3 separate regions of the Homo sapiens genome follow, and all the other regions are linked to region 2. Evidence: promoter capture Hi-C in human tissues and cell types (Jung and others, 2019). All regions are on one chromosome and are shown on one strand. The core of a region is centred on a gene start or on the middle of the fragment in contact, and the rest is flanking DNA. Distances in the headings are between cores, read along the strand shown.

What was found. The method cuts DNA at HindIII sites, captures the fragments that hold promoters and counts their contacts. A contact is called where the count stands out against the background at its distance.
Region 1: a contact is called between a fragment that was not itself captured here and the fragment with the promoter of NDRG4 in region 2, in 1 of the 25 tissues and cell types used here (mesendoderm cells).
Region 3: a fragment that was not itself captured here is called in contact with the fragment with the promoter of NDRG4 in region 2 in 2 of the 25 tissues and cell types used here (dorsolateral prefrontal cortex and spleen).

The regions. Positions count from the first base shown.
Region 1 is chr16:58,646,622-58,650,961 of GRCh38, reverse strand. No RefSeq gene overlaps it. Among named protein-coding and RNA genes, the nearest start is that of CNOT1, 19 kb to the right of the region's middle. The HindIII fragment of the contact is 8,503 bases long and covers 1-4,340 here.
Region 2 is chr16:58,498,741-58,503,046 of GRCh38, reverse strand. It overlaps NDRG4 (NDRG family member 4), which reads right to left and starts at 2,904. Exons shown (of 15, transcript NM_001242835.2): 1 at 2,778-2,904. The coding sequence starts at 2,798. RefSeq lists enhancers at 953-1,002, 595-1,411, 1,412-2,229, 2,230-3,046 and silencers at 2,926-2,985, 2,996-3,075. The HindIII fragment of the contact is 53,618 bases long and covers 1-4,306 here.
Region 3 is chr16:58,366,447-58,370,386 of GRCh38, reverse strand. No RefSeq gene overlaps it. Among named protein-coding and RNA genes, the nearest start is that of GINS3, 24 kb to the left of the region's middle. The HindIII fragment of the contact is 5,593 bases long and covers 1-3,940 here.

The sequences.
Region 1 (4,340 bases), core at 603-3,102, 150 kb before region 2:
CACCATGCCCGGCTAATTTTTTTGTATTTTTAGTAGAGATGGGGTTTCTCCATGTTGGTCAGGCTGGTCTTGAACTCATAACCTCAGGTGATCCGCCCGCCTCAGCCTCCCAAAGTGCTGGGATTACAAGCGTGAGCCACCCGCCTGGCCTTTTTTTTTTTTTGAGACAGAGTCTCACTCTGTTGCCTAGGCTGGAGTGCAGTGGCATGATCTTGGCTCACTGCAACCTCCACCTCCCGGGTTCAAGCGATTCTCCTGCCTCAGTAGAATAGCTCCTGAGTAGCTGGAATTACAGGTGCAGGCCACCACGCCTGGCTAATTTTTGTATTTTTTGTAGAGATGGGGTTTCACCATGTTGGTCAGGCTGGTCTCAAACTCCTGACCTCGTGATCTGCCTGCCTCAGCCTCCCAAAGTGCTGAGATTACAAGTGTGAGCCACCGCGTCTGGCCAATTTTTTTTTTTTTTTTTTTAAGAGACAGGGGTCTAGGCTGGGTGCGGTGGCTCACGCCTGTAATCCCAGCACTTTGGGAGGCCGAGGCGGGCGGATCACGAGGTCAAAAGATCAAGATCATCCTGGCTAACATGGTGAAACCCCGTCTCTACTAAATACACAAAAAATTAGCCGGGCGTGGTGGCAGGCGCCTGTAGTCCCAACTACTCAGGAGGCTGAGGCAAGAGAATGGTGTGAACAGAGGAGGCGGAGCTTGCAGTGAGCCGAGATGGTGCCACTGCACTCCATCCTGGGCGACAGAGTGAGACGCCGTCTCAAAAAAAAAAATAAAAGAGACAGGGGTCTGGCTATGTTGCCCAGGCTGGTCTTGAACTCCTGAGCTCAAGTGATCCTCCCACCTTGGTATCCCAAACTGCCAGGACTACAGGCAAGGCATTAGCCACCATGCCTGGACCAGGTTTTAGTTTTTTTCTTAATTGTTTACAATCTTGCCCCACCCTTTCTTCATTTTAAAGGGAATTTATGCTCCTATTTGGCTGGGCTGGGCTCATTCTGCCACACTGAGCTGCTTGCTCTTCTAACGTCCTCCAGAGTTTCTGGCTCTGGAGTCCTGAGTCTGCCTTGCCCGCAGCCTTTACAGCCTGGCACTAGGTCAATCGGAGCTCCTTTGGGACCTTCAGCATAGCTGTGGCTTGTAAGAAGGAAAAAGTAGGCCAGATGACCTTCATCCCTGAGAAGAAGACCCTGCCTCACCCAGTAGGGCCATTTCCCAGCCAGAATTCTCTCCCTCCTCTGTGGAGCTGCAGCCAGGACCACCACTCAGCCAGAGCACGGAGGCTTTAATGAAGAGTCCCTCGGGACTGTAAAAACCTGTGAAAGTGATCGGCCGGGCGCAGTGGCTCAAGCCTGTAATCCCAGCACTTTGGGAGGCTGAGGCGGGCAAATCACAAGGTCAGGAGATCGAGACCATCCTGGCTAACACGGTGAAACCCCGTCTCTACTAAAAATACAAAAAATTAGCCGGGCGTGGTGGCGGACTCCTGTAGTCCCAGCTACTCGGGAGGCTGACGCGGGAGAATGGCGTGAACCCAGGAGGTGGAGCCTGCAGTGAGCCGAGATGGCACCACTGCACTCCAGCCTGGGCGACAGAGTGAGACTCCGTCACAAAACAAACAAACAAAAAACCTGTGAAAGTGAAAGAAAGTGATCCTTTGGTACTGTGTCTTGGGGTGGCCAGGCAGGGTAAATGTCATGGGTATGTGACCCACGCAGTCACTCAGGGACCTCTGTTTAGAATGTCCCTGCTCTTGGTTTAATGCTCTTGAATTTTTTTTTTTTTTTTTTTTTTTTTGAGACAGAGTCTTGCTCTGTCGCCCAGGCTACAGTTCACTGACCCAATCTTGGCTCATAGCAACCCTGGCCTCCCGAGTTCAAGCGATTCTCCTGCCTCAGCCTCCCGAGTAGCTGGGATTATAGGCGCCAGCCACCACACCCAGTTAATTTTTGTATTTTTAGTAGAGATGAGGTTTCGCCATGTTGGCCAGGCTGGCCTCGAACTCTTGACCTCAAGTGATCCGCCCGCCTCGGCCTCCCAAAGTGTTGGGATTACAGGCATGAGCCACCGAGCCCAGCCTAAATTCTTCCTAACTCTTGAACAAGGGCCCTGCACATTATGCAGCCAGTCCTGTGGCCAGGAAGCTGCCCAGCTGCCTGGAAGTGGGCCTCTTGGGAGGCAGCCCTGTGTTGGCAAGAGAACATTGGCTTCCCTTTGTTTTCTGGGGTCCTCGCTGAGGACTCATGCTCCCCCAGATCTTGCAGCTGGTTCCTGGCCTGCCTTCAGCCCCGCCAGCCATATGGGTTGTGGTGGCAGCTATGGATGGTGGTGTCTGCAGGATCATTAGTGGCAAGCTTCAACTGCAGCCATAGGATTTCCTAGTCAGAAAGACCTCAGCAGTCATTGGCTGCCACCCTCCCACTACAGAAAAAGGTAACCTGAGACCCAGAGAGGGAAGCAAGTGTTGTGAAGTTACACAGCAAGAAGATGTTTAGGCTTAAAAAAGTGGTTCTTTCTTTATGGCCTACATCCTGCTGAGGGCAGACCAGCAGTGAAAAGAAGGAGGGTTCATTTAGCACTGGGCTGGGCCTTGGAAGACTTCTCTCATCTTTTTGTTTGTTTGTTTGTTTGGTTTTGAGACAGTCTCGCTCTGTCGTCCAGGCTGGAGTGCAATGGCACGATCTCGGGTCACTGCAACCTGCACCTCCCGGGTTCAAGTGATTCTCCTGCCTCAGCCTCCTGAGTAGCTAGGATTACAGGGGCCCACCACTGCGCTCAGCTAATTTTTGTATTTTTAGTAGAGACAGGGTTTCGTCATGTTGGCCAGGTTGGTCTCGAACTCCTGACCTCAAGTGATCCTCCTGCCTCAGCCTCCCAAAGTGCTGGGATTACAGGTGTGAGCCACTGTGCCTGGCTAAGACTCCTCTCATCTTAACTAAACCATGTGAAGTTAGGTTTAGCTCCCGTTAGAGAGGATCTCTGCTTTCTGGGAGCAGCCCTGCATGAGATTTAATCAAAGCAGCCCAGCCCAGCCAAACAGGAGCATAAGTTCCCTTTAAAATGAAGAGAGAGTGGGGCAAGTTTGTAAAAAATTAAGAAAAAAACTAAAGCCTGGGCCAGATATGGTGGCTCATGCCTGTAGTCCCAGCACTTTGGGGTGCCGAGGCGGGAAGACCACTTGAGCTCAGGAGTTCAAGACTAGCGTAGGCAACATAGCCAGGTCCCTGTCTCTTTTAAAAAAAATGCCCACGGTGAAACCCCGTCTCTACAAAAAATATAAAAATTAGCCGGGCGAGGTGGCGTGCGCCTGTAATCCCAGCTACTCAGGAGGCTGAGGCAGGAGAATTGCTTGAACCCGGGAGGAGGAGGTTGCAGTGAGCCGAGATCGTGCCGCTGCATTCCAGCCTAGGCGACAGAGCTGGGTCTTAGTTGATATCACCTTGGCCAGTCACTCCCCATCTCTGGGTCCCAGTGTTTTCACCAATCCATTGCCTCGTGGACCTTAATTTCAGATCATATGAGTAAAATCCCATGGAAAGGAAACCATCCTGAGCATACTAAAAGCTGCAGTCAGTTCACACGCCTGGATGAGCCAGAGGCCATACAAGTCTCATCTCCAACACCTCCCAGCTGTTCCTTAACCTCTGCCGGCCTTAGTTTCCTCATCTATGAAATGGGCAACAATAAACTTAGTGTTGTGAGGATTTACATCATGTAGGGAAAGAAGTTTAGCATAATATGTGCCCCGGAAACAGACTGATTAGTTCAAATTTGGGCTCTGACATATAGCAGAGCCCATATAGCATATGGCATATAGCATATATATGGTCACATATAGCTATGTGACCTTGAGCAAACAAACCTGTCTGAGCTTCAGTTTCCTCATCTGAGAAATAAGAATAATAATGAGGACTTACCTCCAAGGTTGCTATGAAAAGCAAGGCAAGGGCCAGGCGCAGTGGCTCACACCTGTAATCCCAACACTTTGGGAGGCCGAGGCAGGTGGATCACCTGAGGTCAGGAGTTCGAGACCAGCCTCGCCAATATGGCAAAACCCCGTCTTTACTAAAAATACAAAAAAAAAAAAAAAACAGCCGGGTGTGGTGGCGGGCACCTATAATCCCAGCTACTAAAGAGGCTGAGGCAGGAGAATCACTTGAACCTGGGGGGGCAGAGGTTGCAGTGAGCCAAGATCACAACACTGCACTCAAGCCTGGGCAACAGAGCAAAACTCTGCCAAAAAAAAAAAAACAAAAAAAATTGGCTGAGTGTGGTGGCTCATGCCTGTAATCCCAGGACTTTGGGAGGTCGAGTTGGGTGGATCACGAGGTCAG
Region 2 (4,306 bases), core at 1,655-4,154:
TGCCTCAGCCTCTCCATCCAGAACCACCTCACAGGGACTTTGCGGGAACTAGACAAGCCAATGTTTGTGGAGCATTTAGCACTTGGAGAAAGCCCCAGAAAGGGGGCTGTTATGCTAGGGCATCCCTGAGCCTTGGGAGAATGCCCTTCTCGCTGTTCCTTTGCAAACTGGGCATTCTTAGCCACTCGGATGGGCAAACTTCAAGAGGGGCCATCTGAGCTAAATAAACCGATCCTCTCTGCATCATTGTGAGCCCTGGGAACCACGTGAGTGGCCCAGTGAGTTGGAGGTGGGGCTGGGGTCAAGGACATGAAAGAAACATCAAGCGACTGAGCACCTACTGTGTGCCAGGCTTCCTGCATGTTACCCAAGAGACAGGAACCCTAGTCCCTGTTTTGCAGGTGAGGACACTTTGGTTTAGAAAGAACCTGAGTTCCTGCCTCCAAATGGGAAAGGAGATTTAGACAGCAGAAGACAGCTGCTCAGGGGCCAGCATTAGTGGGTCTGGTCTCAGAGGACCACTGTCCAGGCCTGTGTCTCCAGTGTGGAGTGACAAGCTGGCACCAACCTGGTGGCCAAAGGCTCTACCCTGGAGAACACTCTTTGACTTGCAGGCCCTTTTTATTTCCCTGTTGTCCTCCAGGAGAGCCCAGGTAATGAGCCTTAGGGTGAGCCATGCGGCTGATTGCACCACCCAGGGGATGAGGAGGCCACACCAGGGCTGAGAGGGGACAGACCACACAGCCCCTCCCATCCCAGGCCTATCCTTTCTCGGGGCCCATCAAATCCAGGAACACTTCCCCGCCACTGACCACTGACCCACAGTTTTCTCATTTACTTCCCACATAGGCCCAAGCCATAGAGGAGGAAATTGAGGCTAGGAAAGGGAAATGACTTGCCCAAGGTCAATCCCAGAGTAGGGAGGGCAGGCCCTGCCAGGTGCCAGTCTCAGGGGCCAGGGCGGTGCACTGAAGGCTGCATGTTCACAGGAGATCAGGTTCCACCCGAGGGAGCTCCTGACCAGGCAGCCCTTTCACAGCCACCTGTGAGTTCTCTCAGCTCTGGAGGGTGGGGCTGCAAAAGAACTGCAATGCGCCTCCTGCTGCATAAAGGACAGTTATCCTCCTGGGGTCAGACGTCGAGAGCCCAGGGCGGTGCCTTCCAAACCCAGACCCGCAGCGTGCGGGTCCGCCTGAGGGGTGTGAGGGGTGTCTGCTCTCTGCTGCTGAGGAGGCCCCACTGTCTTCTCCCAGCCCTGGTGTGGCCGCCCCTGTCCCCATCCCCCTGAGGTGACGTGATCAGGCTCTACTAGGGCTCATCTCCCAGGATGGGAAGGGCTGGGGCTGGGCCTGGGCGTCACCGGGCTACCTGTCCTACGAAGTCCAGTGACCTTCGCTGAACCCTGCTGCGAACCTCCCTAACGCCTTCTCTCACCCTCTGCGGAGAGCTCAGGACTCAGTTCAGCCTGATCGAAGCCAAACATCCCCGTCCCTTGGAGCGCTGCGCAAGGGCAGCCCCACAAGGGCCACAGCGCGGTGCACTCTGAGGCCCCCAACCCTCAGGGCCGAGCACTCCCATTGGCTCTGGGTGACGTCAGAGCCGGCCCCGCCTCCAGGTAGGCGCAGGCGGGAAGCACTGCGGCAGCAGGGGAGGGGGCTGTGGCGGCTCCTCTCGGTCGGTCCGTCTCCCCTCGCCTGTGACCTTGAGCACTGGAGGGGAGTGGGGCTTTGAGCCGGGCTTTGCGCCGGTGTGGGAGTTGGTGCTGGTGGTGCTGTGGTTCGGCCTGTCAGCCGCATCAATAATTCAGGGGACAGGGTCTGCATGGGCGGGCAGGTGCTGACGTCGTCACCTCCGTGCGTGCGGGGTGACCTATCGTCTGCGGAACCGGCAGGGCAGGCGTGTGGGGCCCGGGGGTGGGGGTGAGTCTGCCCCTGCCTCTCCCTCCTGAGGAAGAATGGGGCCGGGGTACCTGATGCCCCGGCGAGAGGAGGTGCCCTGGGCTCCACCTGGGGTCCCCTAGCCCTGCCAGCTTCACGGCTCCAGCGTTGCCTTCCCCCACCTACAAAATAAGGCAGGCAGGCAACCCCTCCTCGTTCCTCCCCAGCAGGGACCCCTGCCTGAAAGGCTGTCATTCCTGTGTGGCCCAGACCTCCTTGCCTCTGCCCGGCTGGCGCAGCAGAGCCCTGGGAACTGTGAGGTGGCTCCTAAGGAAGAGGCCGCCTGTCCTTCCCATCACACTGGCGCAGCCATCCAAACAAGCTAGACGGCCGCCCACTGGGACGGCAGCCCCTGCACGCACAGACCCGGCACGCACACTGGGCACACAGCCTCGGGGGCTCACCAAGGACACCCCCGCCCCCTGGCCTGATGGCCCCAGGCATCACCAAGGCAGACACCATCCAAGCGCACACCAGAGGGCACACGGTCAGAGGGACATGCAGGCACTAGCGCCCGGGTCCACACGGGCAATGCAGCCAAGTCAGACAGTGCCTTCCACGTTCCATTTCCTGCAGATATGTCACCCACCCCCCAACCACACGCTCCCCCCAGCCCCTGCTATGGGCTCTGACTAGCAGCTGCCCCCAGCCACTCCTGCAAACAGGATCACCAGGGAACCTGGAGCACTCTGGCCGTGTCTCAGTGACCCCAGGGTGAGGCTATTTGAAGGCCGGGCTGCCACCAGATGTGGGTTGAGGGGGGCACTTCCTCCCTGCGGTGGGTCATAAGGATGCACCATCCTCCCGGCCCACCTTGATGCCCGCAGCGCCCTCACTCACCCCATCCCAGCACTCCGGCATCTTGCCGAGGGAGGGAACCCGCCTCTACCAGGAAGGACAAACAAAGGCCTGAGTCACTCGGGTCCAGAGGGCGGGGGCAGCTCGAGTGGGAGATGGTCGGCTCTGTGATGGGGCACAGCTCCTGGGCCATTTATACAGGGATCCTGGCCCAGCCTAGCTAGCCCCTCCTCCCCGCAGGGTTTCTGAGCAGCCACTCGCTTACCAGGAGCCCCAGCTCCCATATTGGCTGCTGGGAGACAAGCCTGGCTCCAATTGGCTTCTGAAGTCCTCCTTGCCCCAGCCCTGTCACTGCTCCTCCCACCCCAGCCACACATCATCCTTGATGGTCCCCAGCCCCTGCATCCGCCCCCAGCACATAGGCACACGCCAACAGCTGCAGCTCACACGGGATCCTCCGAATACAAAAGCCGAGACCACACGTACAGACTCACCCATGTCAGGTACACACAGGGTCGTCACAGACATGCACAGCTTACCAATGCGGGGCAGGGCAGGGTGCATGGGCACTGCCCAGACAGCTAGAGCCCTTGACCCACACCTTGGGGAGTATGGAGGGCCCGAGAGGGCCCCAAGCCCAACATCTTGGGGACCAGACCCCCACGCCCAGCCTTCCCATTAGGAAGGTTCCATCGCTTAACCTTGTGGAGGCCTGGGGAGCTGCTGCTTTCTGGGGCAACTTGGGTTATCACCCTGCTTCAAGGGGCTGCTCCTTCTCCACCCACCAGGGATGAAAATCCCACCTTGCCCACGCAGATACAGGGGGTTTCCCCACATGCTGAAAATGGAGTTTGGGGGCCGGGGGCCAGGGGCCCTGGGCAGATAGCAGGGCCAGGGGTATGGTCAGGCACACACCAGCTCTGCCCTCCCCACCCTCACCCTGCTGCCAGGGGCTCCAGACCACCAGGGAGAGGAAGCGGGGCTAGGAGGCAGCTTGCTGACATTGACATGCCCACCTCCTGTAGACCCACCCGGCCCTCGTTCCCAGAGGCAACCAGTTTGGGGCTTGGCTCTCGGGTCTCTGGGGAGCAGAACACTAGGTCTATCTCAGGCTCCGTGCCCTGTTCTCCTGGGCAGCAAGGATCTGGGTGGCGAGCTCGCCCGAGGCCTGCAGGTGGAGTGAGCAGAGGAGAAGAAAGGCCAAGAAGTGCACAGGAGGAGAGGAAATAGGCCAGAGAGGGAAGCAGAGGAGGGGGCCCAAGGCTGGGAGAGCAGGAGCCACAGAGAGAAGGGGGCTGCTGCGTGCCTATGCTCCCAAATCCATGAAGATTATATGTATTATCGTTGCAACTGCCTGTGCAGTAGGCACTGCTGTTTCTCCCATTTATATATGGAGGCTCAGAGAGGTTGACTGACTTGCCCAAGGTCACACAGCAAAGAAGTGGCAGACCTATGAGTGGGATCAGGGTTTGGCTGGCAAGACCTGACCCTGCCTTGTCTGGCCACGATAACTGCACAACTGCCAGAAAAGGGGCCAACAGTTTGGAGAGGCACACAGACTGCCCCATTTC
Region 3 (3,940 bases), core at 1,196-3,695, 130 kb after region 2:
GAATGCCCCCTGACAATTCTGATCCCTTGAAGTGAAGCTACTTACAGCTGTCTGATCCTGAGAAACAGGCCCGGTTGCCTGTTTACTTTATTTATGACGATCAATATCACATCACTATCACTGAGTTCTTTCAACTTCCTTACAGCTTATCCTGTTCACCTAATATTTGTTGGTGAAACCTCTTTTTAGGAGATAAAGGTTTTTACTTAATGAAAATAGAAAAATTAACTAAAGAGTCTATAAAAATACGCTTTAAAAAATCCTGCATCCCACACTATCTCCATAAACGCAAGACAATATAATGCAGTTGAAATTTAGAATGTGAGACTTAAAGTACAGAAAGTATGGTTTGATCCCATGCTAAACAGATTAAGCATGTATTTTAGAAAAAAGACACTTTTTCCCTCTACCCATCTCCAATGCCATGAAAGATGTAAAATATTTCAGACCTGAAAGATGCTCAAATCTGTCAGCACTAGCAGTTGGGAAAGCAATGCAAATAGAACATTACACCTCCCCAAAACCTACTGTTCTCATTCTTACCACACAACAAACCTCGTTACAGACCATGAAAAACAGACGCCTTGTCAATTGTACTGACGCTAATACCAAAAAAAAAAAAAAAAAGTGTTTAATGCCAGGAACTGAGCATTCTGTTTTCTTGTAAGCAATGCAGTGTGAAAAAAATATACAGAAAAGTGGTACATTTGGCAGCTAGCGCATTTAAGAAATAGTGCCCAAAAAACAGGAGGACTGGGCACGGTGGTTCATGCCTATAATCCCAGCACTTTGGGAGGGGGAGGCGGGTGAATAACTTGAGCCCAGGAATTCGAGACCAGCCTGGGAAACATGGTGAAACCCCATCTCGATTTAAAAAAAAAATGAGCTGGGTGTGTGGTGCAAACCTGTAGTACAAAAAACTCGGGAGGCTAAGATGGAAGGATTGCTTGAGCCTGGGAAGTTGAGGCTGCAGTGAGCTGTGATCACGCCACTGCACTCCAGCCTGGGCAATAGAGTGAGACCTTGTCTCAAAAAAAAACAAAAAAACAGGAGAGAAGAAGCAGATCTCTGATTTACTGAAAAATGCATGATTTTTATAAGGTCTATTGTGAATGGAAAACCCTCCCAGCTTTGTAGGAGTTAGATCATTGATGCACTTTGGTATTTAAGAATAAGGCCAGGCTTAGGCAAAACCAAATCCCGTGGACTGTGAGGATGTGTGTGTGTGAGAGGGTATTATGTTCAGTGTCCCATTTGGATAATGAATTCTGTCACTGAGAATTGGCTGCTCCATTAAGGATCTCTGATAACTGCCTCTCTTTAGCCTGCTTAGTTCTCAGAGGCTGTGTGGGAAGAGTCACCTTTCCTGGGACACCAAAATCATGCCCTGTGCAGGTGGAGTTTCCCTGGTGATGATGCCCTTGGCTGCTTGTGCTGGTGTCCTGGTTTTGGGGATGCTAGCTGGGTCTATGTCTGGGATGACCAACTGTCCCAGTTTGCCCAGGACTGAGAAGTTTCTTGGGACACAAGACTTTTAGTGTTAAAATTGAGCCGGTCCCACCCACAACAGCCTAAAAGGCAGAACTAACTCAAGGGTCCATTGATGAATAAATGAGCAAACAAAATGTGGAATATTGTTCAGCTTGCAAAAGGAAAGAAATTCTGACACATGCTACAACATAGAGGAACCCCGAGGACATTATGCTACATGAAATAAGCCAGTCACAAAAGGACAAATGCTATATGATTCCACCTATAGGAGGTACTTAGAGTAGTCAGATTTATAGAGGCAGAGAGGAGATGGTTGCCAGGGGCTGGGGAGAGGGGAAATGGGGAATTAGTGTATAATGTGTGAAGTTTTAGTTTGGAAAGATGAAAAGTTCTAGAGATTGATGGTGGTGATGTTTGCACAATGACACCACAGACCAGCATGCTTGAAAGCCATTAGAATGATAAATGTTATGACATATACGTTTCACTACTATTAAAAATTTAAACCTAGTCCCAGGCAAACTGGGACAGTTGGCCACTCATGTCTTACACCTGCCTGCCTTTTCTCCTCCATCCCTCCAACAGATAGATATAACTCAGGATGCTGCTTACTCAGTGTGGTCTCATCCATGGCAGATTTTATGGTCTCAGCTCCTGTTATACGAAAGGGCAGGTTCTGAAGCATGGGATTCCACTTTCCCTCTAGCCCTGGATACAGCTGATTGGATGGGCAAACCCCTGTTCCAAGCAGAGCACAACTCATGGGCTTGGCTTGAAAGGATTAACTGAACCAATCAGAGTCCTCCCTTGAATACTGGTTGACACAAAGTACAGTTGCAGCTGAGATGGACACTGGAGTGGAGAAACAGAAACAGGTTAGTGTGGTGGCTCACACCTGTAATCCCAGCACTTTGGGAGGCCGAGGGGGACAGATCATCTGAGGTCAGGAGTTTTAGACCAGCCCGGCCAACATGGCGAAACCCTGTCTCTACTAAAAATACAAAAATGAGCCAGGCGTGGTGGTGGGTGCCTGTAATCCAGCTACTTAGGAGGCTGAGGCAGGAGAATCACTTGAGCCCAGGAGGAGGAGGTTGCAGTGAGCTGAGATTGCAGGACTGCACTCCAGCCTGGGTGACAGGGTGAGACCCCATCTCCAAAAAAAAAAAAAAAAAAAAAAAAAAAAAGATACAGTGGCTCAGGAAATATCCCTGTAATAATAGGTTTAGCAAAGCACAGAAAAGACTCTGGTGGTAACACGTAGTGTATACGTATGTGTAGATATAGAATATATATATATATATGCATATATAAAATAACAATACTATTTGAAGCTTTGCTATAGGATTTTTTTTCCCCAACAGAAGATCCATATACCTTGTTACTGCTCTGCCTATCTCATTTTCTGTCAGTTTTCACCCACATCCTCTCCTCTCCAAGCTCAGCCACAGTTATTATTGCCTTTAGCCCTTTGTGCCTGAGGTTCCCTTCCTAGCAGGGTCTCCCTGTTGGCCCCAGTGAATTGAAATTCATCTCATGCTCACTGAGCCTCTACTAGGTGTCATATACTGTGCCAAGCACTGCATATGCATGACCTCACTTTCACCTGCATAACAACTCTCTGTGGTGGGAACTATTATTTTCCTCATTTTACAAATTAGGAATTTACCTGCTATGCTTTGAAAGTGTCCTACAAAGTTCATGTCTTGGAAGCTTAATCCCCAATGCAACAGTGTTAAGAGGTAGAAACTTTAAGAAGAGATTAGGTCATGAAGACTCTGCCCTTATCTATAGATTAACCCAGAAGAGTGGGTTTGTTATAAAAGCAAGTTCAGCCCTCTTCCTGTGTGCCTGGGTTCTCTTTTGCCTTTCCACCTTCTGCCATGGGATGATACAGCAAGAAGGCCCTCACTGGATACCAGCACCTTGATCTTGGACTTCCCAGTTTCCAGAACAGTGAGAAAATAAATTTATGTTCTTTATAAATTACCCAGTCTGTGGTTACTCTGTTACAGCAGCACGAAATAGACTAAGACATTACCCAAGATCTCATAGCTCATAAGTGGTTGACCTTGTATTCAAAACACAAGTCTATTGAAGTTCATTGCTTGTGCTCTTAATCACTACATCACACTAGCATCTGCTTAGAAGAATTAATCACTTGAACCAATAAAAAAAGTTATATGAAATTAAATTAATACATTTTTCTTACAGAGGCTGTGATATGAAGAAAGCTATGCTGTAAGTTTTCTATATCTGCCGATTGGATTTATAATCTCAAGGCATTTTGTAATCAAATACAAGTTCCCAAAATTTCCACAAAGAGAAACGTCACTTATATAGTTCTGAGCTGTTCTGCCAGCCATATACCACAATGCAATCTTTCTAATCACTGTGTGACAATGCATAAGCACTGCTTAGTAATATATCGTACCACATGGCTTTGTGTCAG